Linked DNA regions of Homo sapiens: all the other regions are linked to region 2. Evidence: promoter capture Hi-C in 16 types of primary human blood cells and fetal thymus (Javierre and others, 2016). All regions are on one chromosome and are shown on one strand. Each heading gives the region's core, a stretch centred on a gene start or on the middle of the fragment in contact. The rest is flanking DNA. Distances are from core to core; before and after follow the strand shown.

The links. The method cuts DNA at HindIII sites, captures the fragments that hold promoters and counts their contacts. A CHiCAGO score of 5 or more calls a contact.
Region 1: a contact is called between a fragment that was not itself captured here and the fragment with the promoter of MFF in region 2, in 1 of 17 cell types (M1 macrophages). The highest score is 5.6, in M1 macrophages.
Region 3: a fragment that was not itself captured here is called in contact with the fragment with the promoter of MFF in region 2 in 1 of 17 cell types (M2 macrophages); the score reaches 5.0 in M2 macrophages.

What each region holds. Positions count from the first base shown.
Region 1 is chr2:227,882,901-227,888,047 of GRCh38, reverse strand. DAW1 (dynein assembly factor with WD repeats 1) reads right to left here. Exons shown (of 13, transcript NM_178821.3): 2 at 2,625-2,697. Among named protein-coding and RNA genes, the nearest start is that of DAW1, 14 kb to the right of the region's middle. The HindIII fragment of the contact is 974 bases long and covers 2,147-3,120 here.
Region 2 is chr2:227,322,962-227,327,918 of GRCh38, reverse strand. MFF (mitochondrial fission factor) reads right to left here and starts at 2,668. Exons shown (of 9, transcript NM_001277062.2): 1 at 2,492-2,668. MFF-DT (MFF divergent transcript) reads left to right here and starts at 2,755. Exons shown (of 14, transcript NR_102371.1): 1 at 2,755-2,801. RefSeq lists a silencer at 2,327-2,616 and an enhancer at 2,797-2,846. The HindIII fragment of the contact is 6,653 bases long and covers 1-4,957 here.
Region 3 is chr2:227,899,218-227,903,807 of GRCh38, reverse strand. It overlaps DAW1 (dynein assembly factor with WD repeats 1), which reads right to left. Exons shown (of 13, transcript NM_178821.3): 7 at 699-806. Among named protein-coding and RNA genes, the nearest start is that of DAW1, 30 kb to the right of the region's middle. The HindIII fragment of the contact is 3,631 bases long and covers 1-3,596 here.

The DNA of each region.
Region 1 (5,147 bases), core at 1,384-3,883, 560 kb before region 2:
ATTGTCAAAAAGATAATTAATTTCATAACAATTAAAAGGGTAAAAATGCCCCTTTGAAACGTTTTCAACAACTTATATAAAAACAGATTTCCTCGCAAGATCCAAATTAACCAGATAATCTACACGCTCCAACCCTGTAGGATTTTCATGCAATAATTCCAGCATGTCATCTATGGTGCCAGTGTTTTTACAGGCACAATACTTCCAGATTCTTGCACAAAACTAGAAATAAAATTCACACTTTTTTGAGACATTTATTTACTTTCTCATATCACCAAAAGGTCATGTTTATGAGTGGCTATGCCTTATATCTCCTCAGGAAAGCACAGCACGATTGAGTGACTATAGTTAATATGAAGACTTTCAAAGTGTTGAGTGCCTGGATTCACAGCCCACAAGTCCTTTTTGAAATCACCTAATAATTCATACTTCTTAGATATAAAAATCTGTGGTTTTGCAGAATGTCTAGCTGGAGGTTATTCTCTCATATAGAAGCTTATCTGTACCACTTGTGTGATGTTCTATGTTGTACAAGTTGTTTCTCAAACTAGACAAAAAGCCTATCAAGTGTAGGGATTATGAGTAATATCTTTATAGCCTCTTATAGAATCTAACCCAGATTAGATTCTTACATATGTGTTGAAGGTACATATACATAATTGCTGACTAAATAAACAAATGTCTCACAAAGAAACTTCCTGCATGCTAGCATCATCAAACAAATCAATAACATGTTCCATTTACAAAAATCACAGGTTGGGTTTGATATTAGGCCTCATCTTTTCTGAAAATAACAAAGATTGTTGTATTCAATGAAACTATCTGTGCCACTGTTCATTCTTTGATTTTAAAAAAATATCAATTGACTACCTTCTTTGTGCCAAGCACCCGAAATAAGACTTGGACCCTACATAGACCATCATCCTCTGAGCCATGCCCCAGCCCCACCCTAGACACGTGCTCCCAGAAACATCAAACCTCTCAAGTGGCAGCAACTCCAGGATTAAGAGAGCCCCTCTCTCATCAGTTACGGTGTCAAGTGGACTCATTATAAAACTAGAGAGCAGCCCATATAAGAAAGCTCCTTTTGCTTACGGTCTCAGGCCACAAACCTAAAACACAACATTTTTGTTTTGTTTCTTTTGTGATTTTCACCCATTGAGATTATTTTCACCTTATCTGAACTTAGGCTCTCACAGGATAATCACTAGTCTGACTCTCTCTTGAAGTAGGATGTTTGTTTGTTTGTTTGTTTGTTTACAAAGACAGAGTCTTGCTATTTTGTGTTGCCCGGGCTGGTCTCAAACTCCTAGCCTGAAGTGATCCTCCTGCCTCGATCTCCCAAGATGCTGGGATTACAGGTGTGAGCCACCACACTTGGCCTTGGCCTTGAAGTGGAGTTTTGTATGAGATTTCTTTTCTTTTTTTTTAAAGACAGAGTCTCACTTTGTCACCCATGTTGGAGTACAGCACCGCGATCTCAGCTCACTGCAACCTCTGCCTCCTGGGTTCAAGCAATTCTCCTCCCTTAGCCTCCTGAATAGCTGGGACTACAGGCATGCACCACCATGCCTGGCTAATTTTTGTATTTTTAGTAGAGACGGAGTTTCCTCATATTGGCCAGGCTGCTCTCGAACTCCTGACCTCAAGTGACCCTGCTGCCTCGGCCTCCTAAAGTGCTGAAATTACAAGTGTGAGCAACCACGCCCAGCTATTTGCATTAGATTTACTAAAGAGAATGAACTCTGGGTGTTATTACATCACAAGAGGTTTCCTCTGGGCTAATACCAAGCTTCAGTAATAGAGATTAGGTCTCCCTTTTCTGCCCCATGACAATTAATGAGGAGGAACATATGCAGTCAGCCCTATGAAGTATTTAATAAGAAAATAACAGGCTCAGTAATATTCTTAAAACTCAGTAACAAGTACTTCTCAAAAATGTAAAGGTCACTGGTTGGGCACAGAGAATCGCTTGAACTCAGGAGGCGGAGGATGCAATGAGCCGAGATCGAGCCACTGCACTCCAGACTGGGCAACAAGAGTGAAACTCTGTCTCAAAAAAAAAAAAAAAAGGAAAGAAAAAGAAAGAAATTAAGGTCAGCAAAAATAAGGGAAGTCTGAGAAACGGTCGCAGCTTAAGGAAGCTTAAGGACACATGATGGCTAAATGTCATGTAGGATTCTGGATGGAATCCTGGAACAGAAGAAAGGAATTAGGGAAAAACTAAGAAAAACTGAATAAAGTGGGCCTTAGCTAATAATTATGTATCATACTGGTTCATTAATCCTAATAAATGTACACCGCTAATCTGAGATGTTAACATCAGGGGAATCGGGGTGTGGAAACTCTACCTTCACGGCCTTTCTAAAATCATAAACTAAAAGGTTTATTTTTTTAAGACCTTAGAAAAAAAAGAAAAGAGTGATAACCCTTTTCCCACTTCCTCTTCATTCAGCAAGACCCTCAGATACAACTCCCTGAAACAAACAGAAACTAACACACCACAGAAGAACAATTTTTAAAACATAATGTATTATCTGCAGTTTATGCAGCTCATCCACACATCACTCTGTGTCAAGGCTTCCCAGTGAACATTTATTTGTTGAATCCTACAGCTTACTTACCTGGGACCAAGATCAAGCAAATCTATGGACTTAGTCTTTAATTCTCCATGTTTTTCATATTCCAACATAATTCCTATAGAAATAAACAAACATGTTATAAAACACTTACGATAACCACCTATGTCAAAAGTTAACCTACCTTGCCACAGTTTTTTCCATTTTTATTTTTAAAATTTTTAATTTTTTAACAAAAAATAAGCAGTGATATCTAGTTCCAAAACAAGATCATGTAGACAAACTTTTCCCTGGTCCTTCCCTCTAAATATAACTAAATACCCTTGAAATTGTCCAATAGACAATGAAAAAATAATAGAAAGTTGGATGGAAGAAGGTAGACTGGCTATAGGTTTCAGGGCTTGAGGAACGACTACATGGTGAGATTCCCGGATTTTCTTTTTATCACCGCATTCCACACCCCAAAACTAGGACAAGAGGGCCCTATTCCCTGACCCACAAATGGGGCCCCTGCAAGCAGTCTGATCCCCCAGTGGAAGCTTGGGGCTGTTCCAGTTCCCAGTGCACATTCTGGGCCCCAGCAGGCAGTTGGATCTGGCTGCAGCCCCATCAACAAAGTCCTGGGACCTCCCAGACCCCACTCCACAGCCAGGCCATTGGTGGACAGTCCTATCCACTTGCAAAAGGGGCAACGGTGACATCCAGGGATGTCTCAGACCTCATTCCACAACCAGGCACTGAGGCAGCCTCAGCAAAGCCCTGCGTTTCCCTGCCTTCCAGCCAGCAGCATAATCAGGCCGGGAAGTGACCAGGAAGGCCACTCAGTGACAGCAGGCCTACTAGGGAAGTACCTTCTGCGCCCTGCAGGTGGCGCCAGCAGTGACTGAGCAGGAGCCTTAGCAGTACCCGAAAAAACAAAGGACAGTAACATTGCAAGAGCCTAGGAAACTACAGACACCATTGTAACCAACGCCCGCAAAAGTAGCCCAAGAGCACATATGACAAATCTAAGCAGATTTCGCCAAATTAGAAGGTTTAGATAGGATCAAGGATCCCCGTAATAATCAAAACGTCTAGGATACAATTTTTTAAAAATCACCTATTATACCAAGGACAATCAACAAACACCAATACCAAGATGAATCAGAGGTTGGAATCATCTGACAAGGACTTTAAAGAAGATATTATAAAAATCCTTCAATAATCATTTACAATTTCACTTGAAACAAATGAAAAAATGGAAAATCCCAGAAAATATTTATTAAACCAAATGAGGATTATAGAATTGAAAAATATGATAATGAAAATAAAAAACTTGCTAAGCGAGTTCAAAAGTAGAGATGACAGAGAATAGAATCTGTGAACTTGAAGATGGATCCATAGAATATATTCCATCCGAACAGCCCAGCGCTAATAAAAACTGGACAGAGCCTCCTAACCACCTTACTCTACTGCCTCTGCCTGTGGATATAAACTAGTACATCTCAAAAATTTGGCTTCAGGATCACCTTACACTCTTAAAAATTATTTAGGACACCAAAGAGTTTTTGGTTTTTTTCCATATTAAAAACTAAAATTGAGAAATTTTTTAAATATTTATTAAGTTGTTTTAAAACAACAGTAATTCATAGCATGTTATTTTTATAAAGTTTTTGTAAAAATAACTATATTTTCTTGCCCCTAAAAAGAGTAAGAAGAGTAGCACTGTTTTATACTTTAACAAATCTCTAATATCTGGCTTAAGACAATGGATTCTCATCTCTGCTTCTGCATTCAAGCTTCTGCTAAATGTTTTAGACAAAGTATAAGAAAAGAATGTAGTCAGACACTGATACATAGTTGAAAAATGAAGGAGTATTATAATTGCCTTTTTATATCATTGTGAACATTTTTTGATATTAAAACTCAACAAATGGTAACTTCTTAAAATTAGTTGCAATATAGAATCTGAAACCATATTAGTGAATTTTCCATATACTTGCATTAAACCTCATTGGTCTATTTCACACTTTTGATGGATCTTTTATTCATGCATGGTCCATGCATAATCATGCACTGGACATTTGAAAAATACTGATCTACTAAGTTATGCATATATTGTAACTGTTGACATATTTCATCACACAATATCAGAAAGTAACATTTACCATTTTCACTACCAATTTTTATCATAAGAAAACTCTTACTGTTGGTAAGCTGTCAAGATTATGGTGGTAAACAAAAGTTTTCTGAACTTATACTTTTTGCTTGAAAGCTAAAATACATCACTAGCAAGAAATGCTGGTATTTTTGCTTGAAAGTTGTGGGCTCACATTCTTCATTTTCAAGAAAATGTCTGCCAAAATGTCTGAGTCTGAAAACCATGTTGTTTCTCAGTCACTCTTTCAAGTAAAAATGCTTTTCCATGAAAAAAAGTTGGTTCATCTCGTAATTCAAGCAACCACCTATATTTTCCTTAAGACAACTGTATTAGTTTGTTTTTATATTGCTATAAAGAACTGCCCAAGACTGGGTAATTTATAAAAGAAAGAGGTTTAATTGACTCACAGTTCCTCATGGCTGGGGAGG
Region 2 (4,957 bases), core at 1,419-3,918:
CCAGATGAGATGCTCTTCTAATACTTGCGTGTATCTCAAGCATAGCAAAAGCTCATATTCAGAACTAACACTGAAAAAAGCTACCTCAAAAAGATTATAGCCTTTGGCCATTATAAATTGAAGTTTTATAATAATAAACGAGAACCAAGTGGCTAGAACCTCAGTATCTCCTTGAAATGTGCTTTCTCTGCATTCCATTCATTGCATTTCAGTCTTACGAACTTTCTAGTAGTACATCTCATAGGTCTCACTACTATATTCCATTCTATAGCAACATCTTTTCTTACGAGAATATCTGAGTTTGTAAAAAACTAGTGACTTAGAAAATAAAGGTGGATGCTGAAATGCCAACTTCTGGAAAAAGCCAAGTTCTCCTGTAGCTGAACTACTTACATTTAAAAAGTAACTGGATTTCTACTAAGATTTAACACTGTATTATCCCAATTATTGGGTTTTCTGCTTAAAACCAATCAAAATCTGATTTTTTTTCTCCCTCGTTAGACTGTGGCATTTCTGATAATATCTTTTGGCAATAAATAAACGTCTCATTTGGTGTTGATATGTTAATTCCAGAAGTTTTGTACCTTAGAATCCAGTAGGCAACCAGTACGTGATTCTGTTACATAACAAACGAGGCAAAATCTCTCTTAGAATCACAGATGATTTCATATTTCTACTTTCTAAGCCCAGTGGTTCCCAAACACCAGTAACTAACTTGCCAACTTCATGGGTTTTTTTTTTCCCATATTCACAGAGTACATTAACTTTTTGCTACAGTTAATTTTTTTAACTCGACTTTTTAAAATCAAAAAAGTATTGTAAAAGAAAATTTTGTATCACTACCTTAAACCATGGCTGTACATATATAAATACAGATTGCAAAAACATCCTATTACAAAAAAATCCTCATCCACGTACCGCCTAGAGTCAAGTCACATGCCACTAGCGGAAAGTGTACCAATTTTGGGACACAATGATTCCAGCCCAACTTTCTCATTTTCTGTATTAGAACACTGGAACCCAGAAAGCCTCGGAAGTCACCGAAACAACTTGAGTCAAACTGACTGTGGTTGCAAATGTTTATGTACTTTTCAAAAACAAACATACAAACAAACAAAAACAAACCAAAAAAAACCCTCCAGTTGTTTATTACCTACTGCGTGGACCTAGTTCACACAGATGGGCCACTCTGCACACCCTGTTTCAGTTCTTTTTCAAAGAAACTATATTTAAAAAGTCACTGCAAACTTTTAAAACTATATATTAATGAACTTTAAAATAAGGTTATGAACCCACAGAAAAGTTTCAATACCAGAAGAGAGGAGAGCGAAGACTAAACTTTGCAATTCTGAAAGGAGGCAGCTCTATCAGACAGGAAGGGAGAGAACACAATTTCCTTTTGGAAAAAATGGCAAAACCAATATACAAGCCTTTGAAACCAAAAGATAGAAGGTCCCCCAAGCAATTTAATTGCATGGGAAAAGACTACTAAGTATAACTAAATCGTCCTAATTTTCCTAAGGGTTTTTCTTTTGGGCTCTCATTAGCCAACGGAATTGAGGCAGAAAAAATGTTTTTCACGCAGGGAGACAAAACATTTGTGATCATCTTAAGTCTCTCGGTGGATGAGAGGCCTGAATACAAATGGTTCTATATTTGGGCAGAAGGGCCAGAAACCTTTTTTTTTTTTTTCCCCTTTAATGTTCTCCAATGAAAACATGTCACTTTTGAAAGGGTGCTCTTCCCTCGAGAATGCCCTTTGCTTCTAACTTTGTGGGAGGTAGACAGGGGTGTTCTTTTACGATAGTAATAGTAGCACACGTCCTGCAGAGGAAGGTCAGAAGCTCGGCGGAACAGGAACCGCAGCTTTCCTCCGGCTTCCCAGCTCCTGGAAGGAAACCCGAGAGCAACTGCCTGCAGCCACATCTGCGAGCAGGGATGCTCACAGACGGACAGGGTGGCCCGCAGCCACCCGCGATGCCACAACCTGGGCTTCCAACAAGGCCCTTCTTTTCCAAAATGTACTTGCCACAAAACAACACAAAAACCTCCTTTTAAACAAGGCAGGTTTAAGGTCAGCCTGTAAGGTGTCAGGGCCTTGGCAGGGAAGGATGAGTGAAGACCTGCAAAGCCCGGCGTTCACGCTCACGGGACTCCCGCTGCTTCCCAAACCCCTATTTTCCAGTCGGAAAAGTCCGGGTTAATACACAAAAGGAGACGCCGAACCACACAAGGTGAAGAGGTTCGCCCAAAAACACCTGCAGAAGACGCTCCTCTCCCTCGCTCTCCTCGGGGACTCAAGGTCCCGGGGAGGAGGAAAGACCAGGGTTGAAGGCAAGAGGCCCGGGGACGGGACTCGGGTCAGGGAGACACTACCGGGGGGGCCGGGGCCACCGCGGGTCCCTGTTGGCCGGAGGGTCTCGGCGGCGGCGATAGGCCTGGCAGCCAGCTCGGGCGGCAGGTCGCGGGTCGGGAAGACGTCAACACTCACCCCTGGGCCCACAGGAGGGTCCCGGCGAGGACCCCCGCCCTCTGGCTCCCGGGGCGCTCGAGTGGGCGCTCTCAGAGGTGGTTGGCTGAGAGCACGGAGGCGCCCAGGGACAGCACCGGCGGAGCGGCCCGCAGAGGGCCAGGGCAGAAGCGCGAAAGGCGCGGGCTGGCCCCTTCTGGGAGCCGTAGCGGAAGAGTGTTCGTGGTCATGTGACGCGGAAAAGGGCGGACGCGTGGCCCACGCACTGGAACGGCTCCACGGTAAGCGATGCGCAGACATCTTTGTTGTGGGCGAAACGAGGTGACCGCAGGTGACTCCTCTTGCGGTTAAGTTTAATTCACACTTCGGCTTTATTAGATTTTGTAATCTTTAAGAACTTGGTGTTTGCAAGGTAAACCTTTGGTAGCCAATTAAAACAACTTTTTCAGGACCATCTGGCATGAAAATTTCTATGCTGTGAGGCTTAGGAATTCTCATATGTAAATCAGCTCCGCCAGTGATTCCATGAGTTCCAATTTGATACTTCTTAAGCCCTCGGTTGATCAGACCTTGTCTTCCATGAGAATTCCGGGAGAGGGGAAGTTAAGTTTCACAGTAGTTGGCGGCATCGTTTAGCTTTGGGAGAGCACTCTCTGCTTCTGAACACCCAACCACAGACTCTTCCCCCCAGGAAGCCCTTGCTTAGAGCGGGGGAAAAATGGTACAGTGCTTGTCAGTATGGGAATGTACTGAGGCCAAATAATGTGATATTTTATATGCCTTGGTTTTCACAAACACCTAAAGGTGTACACATGACTTATGTACTCCCCTACGATCTAATTGATATTCTAGAGATGTTACCATTCTTCAAAATGATTTGGGAAGCCCTCTGAATTGCGTTCTTGGGCTTCTTAACACTGGTGTAGGGAAAGTGAAAATATTTCCTCTCCCCTCTTGGGGTCTTGGCTGGGCCTAAGAATTAAACTGATGAGGAAAAGAGTCAAACTCTAAAATATTTGAAGAGATTTATTCTGAGCCAAATGTGAGTGACCATGGCCCGTGACAGAGCCCTCAGGAGGTCCTGAGAACATGTGTCCAAGGTGGTTGGGGCGCAGCTTGGTTTTATGTATTTTAGGGAGGCATGAGACATCAATCAAATAAATTTAAGAACTACATTGGTTTGGTTCAGAAAGGTGGGACAACTCAAAGCAGGGGCTTCCAAGGCTGTAGGTAAATTTAAACATTTTCTGGTTGACAGTTGAAGACCTGGGACCCATAGAAAGGAAATGTTGAGGTTAAAATAAAAGATTGTGGAGACCAAGGTTCTTTTGAAGTCTTATAGTGGCTGCCCTTAGAGACAATGGATGACAAATGTTTCCTATTCAGATCTTTAAAAGGTGCTAGATTCTTACGTAATCTCTTTAGGATTGGGAGGACCTGGAAGAAAATGATCTAGCTATGTTAATAGAAATTCTATGTAGATGCAGATTTTCCCCCAACAAAGGACAGCTTTGCAGAGCCGTTTCAAGATATGTCAAAAACTAAAAAAAATGTTTTGCGGTAAAATATTTTGATTTTGTTTCTTGTCTCGTTATGCCAGTGTCAGATTGGAAAGTAAGTCACAATATATAGGGTTAAATAAAACCCATCTGATGAGAATTTATGGATTGTAGGGCATGAATCCCTAGGCCCCTTAGATAGGAATTTGAGCAAGATTAAAAAAAAAATCAGAGCTTAGTCTCCACTGACGTAAAATAGAGACATAAAACATAACAGGAGGAAAGCATACAAATTTTATTTAGTAATTTTTACATTTACATTGGAGCCTTCCCTAGAAAAATGGAGACCCAAATTAACAGTTGGACCCTAAGTGCTTTTGAGTCTCCATTTTTCTAGGGAAGGCTAAAAAGAGTAGTAAATTGTGAAAATGTGAGAAAACAAACAGATTTGGGTTAGTGCAGTTAATGCAGAAGTGACTAAGAAGATAAAGGTTGTTGTAACAAAGTGGAAATGAAAATCGGTAAGTTTGTGCAGATACAGCTCAGCTTTGACTCCATGTCTCTGGTGTTGAGAACATCTCCCTTCCTCCTTATACAGGGAGGGCACCTTTCATACGGAAGTTTTATCTCCTGCTTTCAGGAAGGAAAAAGGAAAGCCACAGTGCTCTTTTTGCATTTTTTTTTTAAGTGCCTTTGACTCGAAAATAATCTTTATGCCAAAGTGCCATATTTTGGGTTGGCATATCCTACTATTGACAGAGCAGAAGCACTGCCATTTTAAAGTGCCCCTTGATCAAAAACCACCTAAATCCAACCCAGAGGGCATCAGCCTAATGGCTGTCAGCATGACCACAAACCACAAATGACACCTCCGACCAGAAACATTCTAACTCTAAGATAAACCCCTCTCCCACCAGACACATGCCAGCCCCAAGATAACCTTCCCTCTGACCGAGCGATGTCAGCCCCAAGATAACCTTCCCTCTGA
Region 3 (4,590 bases), core at 532-3,031, 580 kb before region 2:
TTATAATTTTGAAAGGACAAGGAAACTGAATTTCCCATCTGGCTGTTCCTGCTGATTACAACATAGGGTCACTCTAGTTTTGTTGCAGTGACTTGGGCTGGGGTGGGAGGAAGGGGAGGGTGGGAGGAAGGGGAGGGTGGGAGGAAGGGGAGGGTGGGAGGAAGGGGAGAGTGACAGATGGCGGGGAGGTGCTGGGCACATGGTGGTGACACACAAGAGCATGCCCCACAGCACTCACTCTGTGGGCAGAGCCCTTTGGCCTTTTCCCCTCTGGTCACTTGCCCCTCTGTCATTTCAGACTTTTGTGATACAGGATGGCTGAAAGACCAGCGGGCAGAGGAGAGTGTGCTCACAGTCATTGCTCTAAGGATTCTCTTGTCATGGTTCTCCAGTTCTGCCTCTTCCAAAAGTGCCAGCCTCCACCTGCTTTCCTTTTAGCCAGAGAGATGGTGATGGGTTCTAAGATATAGTTTATGTGTTTTGCAGACTAAAGTTAGTCAAAATAAAAAGCTCCTTGGACTTCCCCAGCACCTCCACCCAAGTCTTTTGGAATAGCCAGGAAACCAGTAGGGACACTCTTTCACCACTAAAATTTGAAAACCAGCAACTCAACAACCTCCAACTTAGAGCTCATTTTGTAACAAAAACACAAATAAGAATGAACACAAATAACAGGCTTATTAACATTATTGACATACTCTTAAGGTGTAAACTTCCTCGCCATTCTGAATGTCCCACAATTTGGCTGTTGTGTCCATACTTCCAGTCGCCACCAATGTGCTTTGAGGGTTAAATGATAAACACACCTAAATTACATAAAATGGGAGAAATTTTAGGAAGACAGAGTTTCAAAGTGTTAATTATACACAGAAAATCTTCCAGATGCAATTACCTTACCAGATTCCATCTAATTCTTTGTACAAAACCCCACGTATGTGTGACCTGCTACCCCCAGGTTGAGTCCTTCAGAGTCCTCCTCTTGAAAAGAGGCTGCTTGTTCTCCCACAGCACCCAGCTAAGGCTTGGAGGGGCACTAGCTCCCTTTGCCACTTCCAGACCACAGAAGAACAAGAACAAAAGTGAAGCCCACCTCCTTTAAGATCCGTGCTATATGGCTCTCCTTCTCCTTGCTGCTGTCACCACAGTCCTTCCAATCACAGCCCCTCACTCATCAAGAGACTACTGGCTTGTAGTCTCAATGCCAAGTCTTAGGTGGCCTTCACGTGGGCAATCCATCCAGTTCCCCCAGACCCATGCCCCGGACAACTGTTCAGTAGTCTCTCCCATGGCCACACCATGGACCTTAGTATTATCTTCTCTAGAAGATTCACCACCAATTCACCAATCCAGGGTCAAAATTTCCCTTCCCACTCCCCTCCCCCAGAAGATCTTTCATCTCATTGAGACATCTGCCTTTTCTCCTGGTCCATCCTCCCCATTCAACTGACACCCCGGAAGCATCACTCCTCCCAGTATCCTCGACACTGTTAGCCCCTATCTATCTGATGCACCTTCCGTACCAACTGCTAACATTAACTTTTATCAGGCAAGGATTTTATCCAACCACCTGCTTCCCTGCCTCATCACCCAGCCAAGGTAGCTTAAGAGAACAGCACAGAAAGTTACTAGTATTGCTCTTTCATGCCTCTGTCCTCAGTAGAGTCCTCAGCACTGTTCCCTACTTTGCTTAAGATGCTTCTGGCTCTATACATTCTCCTGTTCCCCACTCCTGCCTCTACTTCCATCCTCACCCCTCCTCAACAGACAACCTGGCCTCCTTCCACTTCCCTGAGAAAACTCTCCTGTCAGGTAGGAACTTCCTGATCTTACTTTCCTTCCCCTCAGTCTCGGATGTAGAGGCATCCTTCCGCCCATTCTAAGAACCCCTTCCCTGTACACCTAGGGGAGATGCACCCACTAACTTTTCCTTCCCTGTAGACTAGATCCTTTTCAGTGGCCTGTAAATATGTTTGAGTAAATCCTCCCTTGATCTTATGTACCCCTCTTAGCAACTCTTCTTCCTCCTTTACAACCAAATTTCTTGGGAAACAGTCTACCATCATTTTTGTCCATCTTCTGCTCACTCGTCAACTCTTCTGAAACCACTCCAGCTAAATGCCCAATCCAGGTTTGGTCGGTCATCCCGCTTAACCTCCCTGATATCTGCAGCACTGAATCCTTTGTTCTCTAGTTTCCCTCCCTTTCTTCTTGTTTTTCTTTTTTCTTTTTGTATCATTTGAAGTTCTCTCTTCTCCATCCTCCCAAGATTCTGTCAGTCCCTCTCCATACTCTATATTTTCCTCTGGGCAATTTCAATTGCTCATTGGTTTCTACTGCCACCCAGATGCCAGTGACTCATGCATCCAAGTCTCTTTCCCAGACCTCACTGCTCAGTTCCAGTCCCAAAGAGCCAACTGTTAAATGGATGCCTCTGTTTGGCTATCACACAGGCAGCTTATATCAATCTAAGACACAAAAGTCATATAGATGCAAACCTGCTCCTCTTTTATGCACAGAATTGGTGAATGGCACTGCCCATCATGCAAACACAAAATCAGGGAATCCATCCTGGGTTCCCCTTTTCTTTTATGCCTCATAACTACTTAGTAACCAAGTTCTACTCACATTCTCTTCATCTATCTTTACAACAGGTCTTCATCATTTTTCACGTGGATTTCAGCAAGATCCCCAACTGGCTGATAACTCGGATTTTACCACCCTCCCATTTCTTTTTCACAGTGCCACAGAAATAATCTTTCCAAAGAGCACAGCTGATCATACCATCTCCTAGTCAAAAAGTCTCAACAGTGTGCCATTACCTACAAAATAAAATCCAATTCCTTAGCATAGTATATAACCTCCTGCATACTATGGCCCTTGCTTGCCTCTCCTACTTTAATTGCTCACACCCTGTGACCTGAATTTGAATGGGCTATAGGTGTGCCAAGGCATGGACACTTTTAACTCAGGCAGCTGGGCAGCAGCAGGAATCCTTGCCCATCACCTCTGGCCATGCACAGCAGGCAGCTCCCTTCAGTGTGCTGCAAATCCACATTCACATATTCTGCACATGCCACCACATGGAGGGTCAGGAAGCTCTGCTCTGATCACACAGAGCCACCTGAGTTTCAGGCACACATCACTGTTGCATGCCTCTTCTCAGCATTTTCCAGGGCTGCTCGGTCTGCCTGGAATGCACATGCCACCCCTCTGGGAAGTCTTTCCTGAACACCTTTCCTTGGCTCAGGAGGCCACACTGCTCCCTCTGTGTCCACACTGAAATCCCCATCCACTTCTGACACTTACAACACATCTTTGAACTTATCCATTGACACTTTTACTCCTTCTATTGAATTGTAAGAATTGTGTCTGATTCTCTCAGATACCCTAAGCATGTAGGCCAGGGCTCCACACATAGTCAATATTTAATAAATATTTATTAGATGGATGTTGTTGACTGTGAAAAAGATGAATGTCTCCCTAGGAATTATATCTAAAGAAAATATTCCCCAAAATCTAAAGGAGTGTGCAAAAATGGTCACACTCTAAGGACACACATTATGTTTTTCTTTGACTTTGGGCAAGTTACTTAAGCTTTCAATGCCTCAGTACCCTACTCTGTAAAATGGGAAAATACCTTCCTCTTAGGGTTGCTATGAGGCACAACTAAGCTAATACCTGTCTATGTAAAGGGGCTTAGGACAGTGCCTCTCAAACAGCAAGTGCTGTCAAAGGGTCAGTTATGTTTCACTGCAGTATTTCCAGTCACTAGCAAAGTAACTTCAACATAGCATGAGTTCTTTATGGATGAATATACCATGAATTTTTAGGATGAGTGTAAATAAATTTTACTTCTAAAATAAGCAGCTTGTTTTTGTTCCTGTTTTAAGGTGTACATAAATAAGCAGAATACAGGACCCTTTCCCATCTCCAGGTACTTTCCTTATCCTCAAGACATATTTCCAAGCATTTCACAGTCTGTTCTAGGTATCTTGTTCCTAAGTTCCAGGGGTGGGTGTGGGTGCTAGCACTTGAACACTGCTGGCAGATCGGCTGTCACCGACTATTCACAAAAGCTGTCGCCACTGTGGCTTGCTTTTCCTCCCTCCACCCCTGTATGTTCTTGTTTGCTCTTTCTGGTTCACAGCAGGTATCTTTTTTTCCAGTGAATATTGAGGTTAAAAGACCTGTCACTCTTTGTTATCAATTTCCTCTCTTCATCTACTAATAGTTATTAGCACATTCTTTTTATGTCTCTGTTCAATTCAAAAAGTACTGAGCTATATTTCCCTACTGACAGTTACAGGAGAGGTGGTTATATTTTGTTTCCTGCTTTAGCCTTTTCTCTCTTTGACCCTCAAAAGTCTCTATTATTTTTATACTACTACTGCATTGGTAAAGTGAGTACCTTCTATTTGTGGATTCTCTTTTGGTATTATCCACTTAAGAGTAACTTCAAAGTACAACAAAGTTAGTGAGTTAAATATCTAAAGAATCATTCTACCTAATGAAGGCCAGAAATGGAGGGAAAGGTGTGATCCCCATTAACAGACCAAAACATAACTTGGGGATTTGTTAAAATCAGATCAA